Linked DNA regions of Homo sapiens: region 1 is linked to region 2. The links are contacts of gene promoters, found by promoter capture Hi-C in human tissues and cell types (Jung and others, 2019). All regions are on one chromosome and are shown on one strand. The core of a region is centred on a gene start or on the middle of the fragment in contact, and the rest is flanking DNA. Distances in the headings are between cores, read along the strand shown. Region 1 overlaps GPHN (gephyrin). Region 2 holds the start of FUT8 (fucosyltransferase 8).

Region 1 (3,622 bases), core at 1,115-3,614, 1.1 Mb before region 2:
AAAAATTAACTAGGTCTAATATCCTATATTTCTCTTTCCTGCTGGTCAGAATGCTAAAAGATAGAAACATATACTGCCATGAGAGCCTTGAAGTGATCTTAGAGAGTGATTTCTTCATTTTAGTGGTAAGAAAAGCTGAGAGAGGGTTACACAATATACTGAAGGTTACAAAACTTTACTAGCCAGAATAGTATGAGAACATAGTTCTTACAGTGTTCTTTCTATGATTCAGTGCTCCTTAAATTTTTTGCCATGAAGTGTCAATAACGCAGAAGAATGACGAGATCTGGAGCTCACTTGAAATATAATGGGCTCACTTGAAATTTCTTTGAAGTTTCTAATTTCATCTTAAAGCCTCATATGAATTCTATACTTTGTGCCTAATTTACTTATGCTTATCTTAATATTAAAGTTATTTAAATTAATACCATCAAGTAAAATTGGTACTTAAAAAATTATTATGTTTGTTCCTGTGGCTTAGATTCTAAGCCTTATAGGTATCCCTTGACACAATGTCATGTACTCCAGTTTGAGAAGAATGCCCCAAATTATGGTGACAATTCCTTCATCATATTTCATTTCCTTGCTGCTTTATTTTTCAAATTAAGAATTCTTTTTAAAGCATGGTAAATTTAATTACACTCTTTCGAAATGTATAAATACTGACAAAGCTACTGTTAAAATTGTTGGGGTTGTTTAAACACAAAATTTTCAAGAAGCTCTACTTAGTTAAAATTAATTTATTAAAAACAATTTAGTTTATAAATTCATTAAAGAACCTGGATAGAACTTCTACCTAGCAATACTTCATTAAACATTTCCTTTTTGAGAGGTCACTCAAAAAAACTTTTTAATGAAAGTGAGATTAGATGCCATTCATATTGACTACAGTCCCAATTACTTTTAAGTAGGTTAAACAATCTTTTCTTCTTCCTTGGTATTTATCTTCTCTGCCCAGATGTGAAGGAAGAAATCCTTTGTGGTTTCACTACTTTCTTTTTCAGGATCTTTTTTTAATACCTTTCAAATTCCAAATATGCTTCATTATTCTTCAATCCTATTTACAGAAACAGAGTAATAGATTTTATCTATTTTACTGATTGTTTTTAAAAACACCCTGTTCAACTTAGCCAGGAATCTATCACTAGCAAGATTAAAAATAGACTCTTATTCGTCACTTCCTCCCTAAAAACATACTATTGACTTTCCACTATATGCCTGCTTGAAGTCAAATAGTTGTATGTGTTTTTAATGTATTTAAAACTCTTATTGTATAGCAACTAATACTTTTTCAAGTCCTTGGCCAGTGATGATAGTATTAAGTATATTCACTTTGAAGTCAAATTGTCACATGTGTTTTTAATATAGTTAAAATTCTTATTGTATAGCAACTAATACTTTTTCAAGTCTTTGACCAATGATAATAGTACTAAGTATATTCATTAGAAATTAATTTAACATTTTCCTACTTTGCCTAAACATTTAATTCTCTAATACATTGCTTTCAACAAAAAATTCACAAAATAACAATCTATTTCAAGAAATAGGATTCCTTTCAAGTCATATAGATCAATATTAAAAACACATATTAAAAAAACAGCTAAGTTAGGCAGAACATACAGTTCCACTTAGTAGGATTTAATAGTAATTTGCCTACTTAATGACATCTATTCTCAAAACAGATATAATATGTATATATCCTTATCAATAAATGGGCTTTTCAGAAAATAATATTGACACATAATATACCAGAACAGGTTTCAAGAATGTAAAAAAGTAAATGCTTAAACAATTGCAGAGTTATGACAGTAGCATCTGCTTGGCTCAAGCTTGTTTTTTTAATACTTTGAATGACTTCATTTATGAATAACTGAAATACTCCCTACCTGTTACTGTAATATTTTGATGTTCTCATTTACAATTAGTCTTTTAACTAATCTCTAGTACCTAGTCTTATATTTGTTCCAGTATCTCTTACTGATTTCAAATCAACAGGTTAGTGCAATTAAAATGTATATTACTACAGCAAAAATATGATTTTTAAAAATGCCCTTTCCCAAAAATTTGTACCTTTTTCTCATTCATGCCCCTATTAGTGACAATTTAGGTAATGGATTATCATCTTCAGCTAAGTACCTTGGTATCAAACATTAGCTGTAGCGAACTAATACGATATTCAGTAGCCAATGGAATAATCTATATGATTCTACATTCTATACATACATGTAGTCATTATTTTCCTAGTAATGTTTCTGTAGAGCTTTTACAGGTAAAACTAGTATGCTGCTTTGATAAACAGCTTCTTTCAAAATAGAAAAAAGTATGTGAAGAGTGACATATTCCAGATATAGTGAGCCTGCTATGTAACTGGTAAGATTGACTTCAAGTATAATCACTACTAAAGCTGTTAGAAAAAAATTCTACATCTGCACCACATCCTGTTTCTAGTTTTCAAGTAGCAGATACTTGTTTATTTGCTTCATGTTACTCATTACCATATTACCTCTAGTCTCTTCTATAAATAGTAATACAAGTAGACAACTAATTAGACACAGAAATATTTCAAACTAGACCTTAGGTCACCAAACACCATGTGACTTTCATTTCTGTCAAGTCAACATAAGACAGTTTCGAACAAAGTTATTGTTGTTAGAGATGGACAATAATATTCAACATAAAATGTTTCCACATACAGCCTATTTTATATACATATATGTTCTCATTTTCCTGATTTAAAAAAAAGTATAATTAGAATATCCATGTTACATTAATTATCATAATCTCATTTTCAAGTGCTTAATAATTCAAAATAATGAAGCAAAAAAATGCTTCTGCTAAATATTTCCCTTTCTACCATTATTCTTTCATAAACCTAATACAATTAATTTATTTAATGAGAAGTCTCAACAGACTATGTACTAAATTTGCCAAATTTACAACTGAAATGAAGATAACGAAAACATCTAATGGATGAAAAGTTTCAAAGAACAAATATCTTTCAACAGGTAATAAAAAATGTCACAACGTCAATTAAAAACTTTAGAAATGACAATATGACTTCACAAAATACTAAGTAACATATTGTAAAATGTGTGTGTGGGTAGATCACACTTTCCACTATCTTTGTAAAATAGATATAGATAAAATACTTAAAATTAGTATTACGAAGCATGCCAAGGAGATTTTCTAAAAGAGACCCTCCACCTTTTAAGAGCCACAAATAATAATTTACAAAAACCACAGTTCAACTCAACTTTCTTAAGTATGAAATCACAATACTTCAGTTCAGTAAAGAATAATTCTACATAGTAAAACTGCAAAACCTCAAGTTCTAGAATACACAAAATTGTACAGCACAGCTTCATTTTTGTAAGTTCTTTCCCCCAAATCATATGGTATATCAGGCAAGACCACAGAAATTAAGCTGTTGATAATGAAACCCACTAGTTACAGACTTGAGAAAAATCAGTTTTCTTTCCTCTCCATCATAGTAGACAATATCTGTATCAACAACTTTCAAGAAAAAGCCTGAGTTACTTCTGACTTCAAATATACATGTTATCATCAAAACCTATTTTCCTCTATTATCACTTATTCCAAATCTGTAGCTGCCTTTTCATTC
Region 2 (3,341 bases), core at 419-2,918:
TCTCTCCTAAAATACTTTCTATATGATGCACCTATTTAAAGAATTAGTCATAAAACATAGAATGTAAATTTAATCAAGAAAATAAACATGCACCTAACCGCCGGAATAACAAGAAAAAAAAAATCTATAATGAAACCTGCCTACAGTTTTCATAGAGGCAAGCCAGTTAAGTCAGTTACTTGAGATGCGTTTAACTCTAAACTGACACAAAACTTGTGTTGAATTTGTTCCGCAAAACCTTGAAATTTGGGGTTATGTACTACAGAATTTGGCTTTTCTGGGTCCACCTTCCTGAGTGGGTTTAAATAAACTGTGAATAATTAAAACATAGGAAGGAAAAAAACACCACCTGTCCGTGCCTTTAACCAAGGCCTCAATCTATATATTATATGGCAAAATGCTAAAATAAAAGCTCATCCGGGACAAACCCTAAGCATGACACTGCCACTTAAGAAATACACTGCGTCTCTGAAGATTGCAATCCCCACTGTGAAGAAAGAACAGGTGCTGCACCCGACAACCCACTCAATCCTGCAGGACAAACCTCCTAGAACTGATAAATATGGACTCATTTAACCTTCCCAAATAAGTTGATACTCAAAAGCCGCCAGCTCGTCATTTGCACATCAAAAGGGAGTACAGCTGCACTCAAGCCTTTAACTGCCCTGCATCAGTCCCTCGCGGATCTTTGTGAGGGTCCACTCCCTGCTTTCTAGCCCGAGCAGCACTCAGAAAGAGCCCATAACGCACGGGCATCTTCCTCCCCACAAACCGCGACTCCAGGGACCGAGCTGCTGACGAAGGGAAGGTAGGTGTGGAGGGGAAACGACGGACACCTCCCACCCCCGCCCCCAACCCTTCTCCTTCCCTAGGCTTTGGCCCCTGCCCTAGGCAAGGATGCGCGACGCCGAGGGCAGCAGCGGCGCAGCTCCGCGTCCCGGCTGGAGAGGCGGGCGCCCCTCACCCTCTGCCCGCGCCCCCGGGGCTGCGCCAAGGCATCCGCCAGAGCGTCCCGGGGGCTCCCTCCCCACTTTTCCGAGAGCCGCTGGTTAACCGGCAGCAGTTGCAGCAACAGGCCCGGGTGAACGAGCAGGGACAGCCGCGGAGCCTCCTCAGATCCCGCGCGCAGCCCAGCCCAAGACCCCGAGGCGCGCGGGGCCCGGCTCCCAAAACGCCCCCTTACCCCAGGCGGGAGCAGAGGCGGTCTCCGCCGCTCCCCGTCGCAGCTGCCAAAGCCACAGCCCTCAGCCGCAGCTGCCCCACGATGGGGGAGTGGGAAGGGTGGCTGAGTGGAGGATGCTACTCCCGACCGAACGGAGAGGAAGAAACGGAAACAGGAACCGCCGCCGCCGCTTAACGGAGCCTTCGGCGCCACTGACTGAGGCAGAGCGCGAGGCGGCGCGAGCCGGGCAGTCGCTGACAGCGCGAGACCGAGAGCGAGCTGGGTCCAGGGCGCGCGACCCTGAGCAGTGCCGGCCCCATTCCGCGGGGAGACGAAGGGACGGGTCGGCTGGGGCCAGGCGGCGGGGGTGGGATGGGGAGGGGGCCTGGAGAGGAGGGAACCGGCTGCTCGGGTCGGCCGGAGATAACGCGCGCACGCGCCGGAGCGGCTCTGACAACGAGCGCAGGCGGGGAAGCCTCGGCCAGCGCCGGCGTGCGCGCGCGAATGGGGGAGCGCGCCCCTCGGCGTTCCTGGCTTCTGGGAGAGGGCGCGCATGCGCCGGCCGCTGCCACCTACGGCGACCCTGGCATGTGCCAGGGATTCTCCCCGCCCCCTTCCTCGCTGCGCCGGTGGAGAGCGTAGCAGCAGCATCCACCGCCTAGCAGAGCCGCGGGCCACAGCGGGACGGCACAGTTCCAGCAGGGCAGCGGCTGCGCACGCCGGCTCCGGCTCGCACACAGGCGTAGGCCGCCCTCTACCGCCTGAAGGCCGGAGGCTGAGCGGGGCGCGAGCGGATCCTGGATCCCGGGAGGAGACTCGCCTCCAGAGAATGCTGTGCTCCCTACAGCGCCGGGAATGGACCGGCCCGTGCCAGCTCAGTCGGCGGCCCTAGGGGGCACCCGCACTAGAGGTTTTGAAGCTGGCTCCTTGCTACTTTTAGGGGTGCGCGCTGCTGCTGCTCAGCCCCTGCAGCCCGCATTTGGCCGCTTGACTGCTGCTTCCAGCGCGATCCTACAATGGCATCGCTCCCCCAGGAGACTCAGCGAAGCCCTACTTTATCTTGTAAGAGCTGTTTCCACATTCACTCGAAGAGAAAGACCCCCCCCACGAGGGCCTGAGTTCGATGCCCGGCCTCTCCCGACCCGCGGCTGCGACAGCCCCTCTGAGGCGGAAGTTTATTTAGTACGGGAAAGAGAACAGCACGGGGAGAGGGGAGAGGCTTTGCCCTAGGATGCGTCCTACCCGCTCGGACTCGGAAAATTCCCGGCGCCCGCGATGCAGAGCAGTGGACCGAAGGGCTGCCCCAGAGCAGCCCAGACCGCCAGCTGAGCGGGAGGACCGGAGCGCGCCGCCCCAGCACACAAAGTAGTCGCGGGACGAGGGGTGCCGCCGAGGCCAATCAGAGCTGCGCGCCGCGTGAGTGGAGTGCGAGCCGGCCAATCAGAGGGCCGGAAGATGAGCTTCCCGTTCCAAACTCTTCCCTGTAGCCTTGGGACCCAGATCCCAAGCCTGGGGCGCTTTACGGTGGGAGAGCGAAATGGTGCCCTTAAGACAAGAATCATTTCTCTAGGCTTGGGCATTTTAAAGTACATACCGGGGATACTTATCCCAAAGCAAGTAGCGGCGGCCTTTTAGATGTTAAATATTAAAAGATCACAGAAAGGAGATTTAAGAGGCAGTGGCCTGTCAAGGTTGCAATCTGCCTAATATTCATAAATTCACATATTTATTGAGACCTTCTTATGTACCAGGAACTCTATCACAGATACACAAATAAGGTACTGCTGATTCAAAAGAAAATCCCTTGTCCTCAAGCAGCTCAGGTTGTGAGGGAGGCTTTCCTAGACCTTGAGACTCGTATTTATTGTCAGCTCTTTAAACAAAAAGCACTCTATGAAGTGCTGTACTTTACAGTCGTTTTTATGATTATCTCCCTGTGAGAAAAGAAAATTGAAAGGAAAGTAGAGTGACTTGTCCAAGATCACACAGAAGATGTACTAGCAGAGCCAGAATTATGTTCTAGCTCAGTTTGGGTGTCATCATTCAATAAAATAATTCAATAACAATTTGTAAATGCATGGATGCTCTCTCCCATGAGATTTCTGTACTAAACGTATAAGCAGGACAAAATTCTGGTATAAAAGTGACACACTTTGGTTGTTGGAAATGAACACAAATT

The links. The method cuts DNA at HindIII sites, captures the fragments that hold promoters and counts their contacts. A contact is called where the count stands out against the background at its distance.
Region 1: a contact is called between a fragment that was not itself captured here and the fragment with the promoter of FUT8 in region 2, in 1 of the 25 tissues and cell types used here (dorsolateral prefrontal cortex).

What each region holds. Positions count from the first base shown.
Region 1 is chr14:66,510,961-66,514,582 of GRCh38, reverse strand. All of the region lies in intron 1 of GPHN (gephyrin), which reads right to left. Among named protein-coding and RNA genes, the nearest start is that of GPHN, 4.6 kb to the right of the region's middle. The HindIII fragment of the contact is 6,277 bases long and covers 1-3,622 here.
Region 2 is chr14:65,411,057-65,414,397 of GRCh38, reverse strand. It overlaps FUT8 (fucosyltransferase 8), which reads right to left and starts at 1,668. Exons shown (of 11, transcript NM_001371533.1): 1 at 1,184-1,668. FUT8-AS1 (FUT8 antisense RNA 1) reads left to right here and starts at 1,781. Exons shown (of 1, transcript NR_024334.1): 1 at 1,781-3,341. RefSeq lists enhancers at 363-927, 2,170-2,489 and silencers at 850-1,039, 1,050-1,169, 1,470-1,629. The HindIII fragment of the contact is 6,462 bases long and covers 1,249-3,341 here.